2 separate regions of the Homo sapiens genome follow, and region 1 is linked to region 2. Evidence: promoter capture Hi-C in 16 types of primary human blood cells and fetal thymus (Javierre and others, 2016). All regions are on one chromosome and are shown on one strand. Each heading gives the region's core, a stretch centred on a gene start or on the middle of the fragment in contact. The rest is flanking DNA. Distances are from core to core; before and after follow the strand shown.

What was found. The method cuts DNA at HindIII sites, captures the fragments that hold promoters and counts their contacts. A CHiCAGO score of 5 or more calls a contact.
Region 1: a contact is called between a fragment that was not itself captured here and the fragment with the promoter of PITRM1-AS1 in region 2, in 2 of 17 cell types (M2 macrophages and megakaryocytes). The highest score is 5.7, in M2 macrophages.

Annotation. Positions count from the first base shown.
Region 1 is chr10:1,086,140-1,089,109 of GRCh38, reverse strand. WDR37 (WD repeat domain 37) reads right to left here. Exons shown (of 14, transcript NM_014023.4): 7 at 2,753-2,824. Among named protein-coding and RNA genes, the nearest start is that of WDR37, 31 kb to the right of the region's middle. The HindIII fragment of the contact is 1,804 bases long and covers 757-2,560 here.
Region 2 is chr10:3,140,025-3,142,996 of GRCh38, reverse strand. It overlaps PITRM1-AS1 (PITRM1 antisense RNA 1), which reads right to left and starts at 1,396. Exons shown (of 4, transcript NR_038284.1): 1 at 1,228-1,396; 2 at 1-25. It overlaps PITRM1 (pitrilysin metallopeptidase 1), which reads left to right. Exons shown (of 27, transcript NM_014889.4): 24 at 2,185-2,310. RefSeq lists enhancers at 655-1,154, 1,155-1,656. The HindIII fragment of the contact is 14,067 bases long and covers 1-2,972 here.

The sequences.
Region 1 (2,970 bases), core at 409-2,908, 2.1 Mb after region 2:
CAGGGCCTGTGAAGACACACCCTTGAAGGACAACTCCCTTAGAACAAGGGAAAGCGAGAGGAACAGCAGAACCCCTAAAGCCTGAAACCCACCGGCCACCAACCCTTAAGTCAATCAAGGCTTGCCGTCCACTCTATCTGCTGGCCAAGGGAAAATTAAATCCCCTCTAGAGAACAGAAATGACTATGCGTGTATGTACACGTCTATGTGTGGATGCAGGCATACCCCGTTTTATTACCCTTCACTTTACTGTGCTTTGTAGGTACTGGATTTTTTACAAATTGAGGGTTTGTGGCAACCCTGCGTTGAACACCTAATTGCCACGATTTTCCCAACAGCATGTGTTCACTTCACGTCTCTGTGACACACGCTGGTAATTCTTGCAATATTTCAAACTTTTTCTTTTTTTTTTTTTAATTTCTTTTTGCCAGCACCTTGACCTTGGATTTTTGCATTATTATTATGTCTGTTAATAGTGACCTGTGATCTCTGATGCTACCATTGTCATTTTGGGGAGAGGCACAAACCACACCCACATAAGACCACAAACTTACTCAATAAATGTTGTGGGAGTTATGACTGCTCCACCAACCAGCCTTTCTCTCATCTCTCCCTCTGCTCAGGCCTCTCTACTCCGAGACAAAACAATACTAAAATTAGGCCAATTCATAACCCTACAATGGCCTCTAAGTATTCCAATGCAAGGAAGAGTTGCACATTGCTCCCTTTAAATCAAAAGCTAGAAATGATTAAGCTTAGTGAGGAAGGCAAGTCAAAAGCTGAGACAGGCTGAAAGCTGGGCATCTTGCACCAAACAGCCAACTTCTGAATGCAAAGGAAAAGTTCTCGAAGGAAAGTAAGAGCACTATTCCAGTGAACACACAAATGACAAGAACGCCGATACACAGGAAGTTTGAGTGGTGGGGACTGATTAAACCAGCCACAACATTCCCTTTAGCTGCAGCCTAATTCAGAGCAGGGCCCTGACTCTCAATTCCCTGAGGGCTGTGAGAGGTGAGGGAGCTGCGGAAGAAAAGCTGGAAGCTGGCAGAGAGTTGTTTATGAGGTTTAAGACACCGTCTCCACAACATAAAAGTACAAGGTGAAACAGCAAGTGCTGATGGAGAAGCTGCAGCAAGTTCTCCAGAAGATCCAGCTGAGCTCATTGGTGAAGATGGTTACTCTAAACAACAGGTTTTGAATGCAAACAAACAGCCTTATATTGGAAGAATATGCTGTCTAGTACTTTCCTAGCTAGAAAGGAGACATCCATGCCTTCGAAACTTCAAGGGACAGGCTGACTCTTGTTAGGGGCGAATGCGGCTGGTGACTTTCAGCTGAAGTCAATGCTCACTTGCCATTTCAAAAATCCCAGGGCCCTTAAGAATTACGCTACATCTCCTCTACCTGTCCTCCATAAATGGAACAACAAAGCATGGATGACAGTACATCTGATGACAGCATTGTTGACTGAGTATTTTAAGCCTACCATTAAGACCTACACCTATCATAATACAACTGGCTCATTGACAACGCACCTGCTCACCTAAGAGCTCTGATGGAGATGTACAAGATGAATGCTGATTTCATGCCTACTAACACAACATCCATTCTGTAGCCCAGGGATCAAGGAGTCATTTCGATTTTCAAGTCTTAAGTTTTTAACCTATGCACATATATTTAATTTTTTTAACGTTTCTGAAGAGGAAATTTGAAGGAGGAAACAGAATACAGCACTCGTTCCTGTAACAGCGTTTTGCTCTACATTTGAGCACCAATCACACACACGCCAGGCACTGCTAGAAAACTGCAGGTGACACTGTGGCACCCCAGCCAGTCTGTGGGATGCCAGGGGAGGAAGACAGGTAAGAAGGCAGCACGGAGGAGGGGGTCTAACACGGGAAAGGCGCCAGCCTGTCTACACACTAAGGGGAAATGTCCAGGGCAAGAAAGAGAAGACACTGTGACAGCAGGAATGGCCAAAGGAGAGGAGGTCCTGGGAAAGGGGAGGGGAAGGCTCCACAGCTCATCAGGGCCCTGTGGACGGGCAGACAGGCGCTCAGAGCCACGGGCCCCACCCACACCTGTCCCTCTGTGCACACAGGCGATGCCACCTCTCAGCCTGGCAGCGTGGAGGTGTGAGGGAGGGCGAGTGAGCAAGTGAAGAGGGCACTGCGGGGGAAGGAACCACACAGCACGTGCGAGAGGAAACAGAAACAAAGTCTGGTCAGGAAACTGGTACACACACAGCTCTAAGTGAAAAGGCAGAAAAGAGCTACGTGAACAGCGTTAACTAACTACATGGACAGCGTTAACTACGTGGACAGCATTCACTCCGTGGACAGCATTAACTACGGGCACGCAAGCACATTCATGGAGTATCCTTTATTGAATACATCCAAGTTATCACTACATCAAAAGTAAACCTCTAAAACAGATATGTATTTTGTGAAAAATAACGCACACATTTCAGTTACAAAATTTCCTACATATGGGTTATATACAATATTAAATAAAATGCAGACTAACATGATATGTACATTGTTTAGGGAGTTAAGCTTTTCCCTGTTATTGAGCCCATACAAGCTCAAGACAGAGTTATCCCAGTCTCTGAACAGACCACACTGTCCCCTGACAACCGAAACAGTAAGGCTTCCTACACAGTAGCAGCTGGCTTTATCATGCACGATTTTAAAAACACACTGGAGAAGGCAACGGCCTCTGGCTACGGCACTCCTTAGGCAGTGCTTACCTGAGCCCACGTGGCCTGCGTACTTGACTAGGCACTTCCCTGTCTCTATGCTCCACAGCAAAGCCGTGTGATCTGCAAGATGGAAATGAAGAAGTCGGAACTTAGCTATCATCAGTTTATAGTTTTTCAAATGAAAGAATAAGACAAATACTCTAAAAATGGGAAATTACACGACCACTGATATCTCTTCCACCTTTGATTCTATTACTCTGTATGCT
Region 2 (2,972 bases), core at 147-2,646:
AGCAAAGGCAGATCAAGACACGAAGCTACAAGGGAAAGAGTGGGAGGTGACCCGGAGAGCCATGGGGGCTGCAGGAGAACCTCGTGAGCCAGACTCTGGGTGGGTGGGGGGTGCCTGACCTGGGGCCACAGAGGGACAGGGCAGTGGGGAGAAACCAGGTGGTCCTGCAGAGCCCTGCAGATGGCAGGGCTGGAGGCCGCCTCACAGTCCCTCTAAGGAGTTTGTCTCCCCTGTCTCCCCACCAAGTCAGAAGCTCAGGGAAGGAGGCCCTGGGTTGAGCAGCCGAAGCCACAGCCAAGAGTCAGGGTCAGGCCTGTTCCCAAAGTGGCGTGGGGCGAGGGAGTTTGCAGCCTACAGACTGGCCCTCCAGCCCCTTCTTCCGAACTCTGGCTGCCCCTTGGCTGTGTTCATCCCATCTGGGGAAACTGGCCAGACCAGGACAGACTCACAGACGTGCACCTTTGGGGACCCGTCAGTTGGGTGTGTATGACACAGATATGTGCAAACATGTTATATCCCGGAAATTCACTTCCTGTGTCCTTGTCCCAGGCAGCTACCCCCATGAGGGACTAAACCAAGGAGTGAGCCTGGTAGAGAGGGGGAAGGCAGGCTTAGGCCTGGGCAGCCTGTCCTGATTGGAGAAGGAGCCGGGCCTCCGAGGTGCACGTGTGTCACAGAGGGTCACAGATGGGGAGGTGTGTAGGAGGCAGGCGGGAAGAAACGTGGGGCTGCAGTGGGGGCCCAGAAAGAGCTGGCTGTAGAAGTATGTGGTCAGCTGTTTTGTTCATTTATTTCCATATTTGTAGAAGATGAACAGATCTGTCTGCTATGCCGGCAGAAGAGTGGTGTCTGTTTCCACTATCCAACAGGAAAATGTAGACAGAAAACACTAAAAATGTGGAGGTTCCCCCTGGGCAGTGGGATTCCAGATCTTTTTTTCCTTGTGTTTTGTATTTTATAATCTTTCAAAAGTGAGCATGTTTTTAATATACAAGTAATAGAAATTTCTCAGGAAGGATAATGTGTGGACGGATGGAACGCCATCCCTGCCGGTGCTGGTGGAGACTCCGTCCCCCAGGGTCTGACTCCAGCCTCGCTAGTCCCGGCTGACGGCGCCCCAGCCACCCGAGTGGCGCTGGGTTTCTCCTGGAGGACCCACACGAGATGGTCGTGACTTCTCCCACCACAGCCCCTGGGAACACGCCCACTCCTTCCTTGATTTCCCACCTGGCCTATTTGACTCCCTTCATCCACTTTAGGAAAAGGCCTGTCTGTGGAAGCGGCGACCTGGGGCTGATCTCACCACGGGCGTCTTCAAGGAGCCTGTGTCTGTGCTGCAGACCCTCCCATCATTGTCTGCCCCGCCTTCTGTCGGAGGTGGATGTGTTCTAGAATCAGCTTGAATGTGATGTTACCGTTCACAGTGGAAGGCAGAGGAAATTGGCCCTGTTCCTAGAAATGTGCTTTATCAGAGAGTGTGTGTTTTCTTAAGGGATTCTTATAAAACTCACTTCAGTTTCCTTTCTTTCCATATTCTGATGTGAGACATTTAAATAAATGTTCATTTGCTCATTTGCCTTTATAATAGAAATAACCTCTTTCTACTTCACGAGATTTTAAAAATGCCACATGTGCATTGGAACAAGTTAAGCAGTGTGGTGCTGGAAGTGTTAAGATTCCCTCCCCACCACCTCTCCCTTCAACCCTGTAATCTAAGCCAACTGTTTGAAAATTGTGCTTCCTTGTGCTTTTTAGTTTTGGTTAATTGAAAAGAAAATCTCATGCCTGTAAGCTCAGCACTTTGAAGGCAGGAGGATCACTTGAAGCCAGGTGTTTGAGACCAGCCTGGGCAACAAAGCTAGACCCTGCCTCTACAAAAACTGTAAAAATAGTCAGGCGTGGTGGCACACACCTGTAGGCCCAGCTACTCAGGAGGCTGTTGTGGGAGGATCCCTTGAGCCCAGGAGTTCAAAGCTGCAGTGAGCTGTGATTGCACTAATGCACTCCAGCCTGGCGACAGAGCGAGACCCCATCTCTTAAAAAACAAGACCAAAATATGGGACCATAATTTATGCAGCATTATTTTACAACTCGATTTTCATTTTCACTTAATCCAACAATTACTTCATTGTCTATGCTTTTTTATCAGCCACGGTATTAACTTGCATTTTTTAATCATTTCAGTCTTAAAATCCTTGCACGTTTGATGACTGCCAAATTCTTGCATACAGAAATTCGAGAAAAAGGCGGTGCTTATGGTGGAGGCGCAAAACTCAGCCACAATGGGATTTTCACCCTTTACTCTTACAGGTGAGTTTTGCTCTAGTTCACACATTGGGATGCACACGTCGTTTTAGTCTTCTACTCATGATTATCAGTGTCATTTTCTTCTACTGCAGTGAATTTTAGACAAAAGTTGTTCTGTGTGCTTCTTTTCACTCCTTGGGCACTTAGCCACACCCAGCAATGTCCTTTCTGGCGCGAGGATTAGGGCCAGCAGCCGAAACAGGAAGCATTCTGCCTTCAGTAAACCCTGGCTTCAGCCAGCATATTTTGGCAGAACACGGTAGTGCCTCCATCCGTGGGTTTGCCTTCCATGGTTTATTACCCACAGTCCCCCTCGGTCTGAAAATATTAAATGGAAAATTCCAGACATAAACACTTCCTAAGTTTTAAATTGTACACCATTCTTCTAAGCAGTGGGATGAAAGCTGACGCTGTCTACGGTACCTGCCTGTTGGTCACCCAGTAGCCGTCTAGGTATCAGATACGCTGTGGGTATCCAAGAGCTTCTGTTCACAGAACCCTTGTTTTACTTAATAGTAGCCCATCAGCGTAACTTTTATTACAGTATAATTGTTGTATTTTGTTAATATCTTGCTGCACCTAATCTATAAACTTTATCATAGGTATAGGAAAAAAACATAGTATCCATAGTGGCTGTCTGAGGTTGCAGCCCTGCCGTGGGGGTC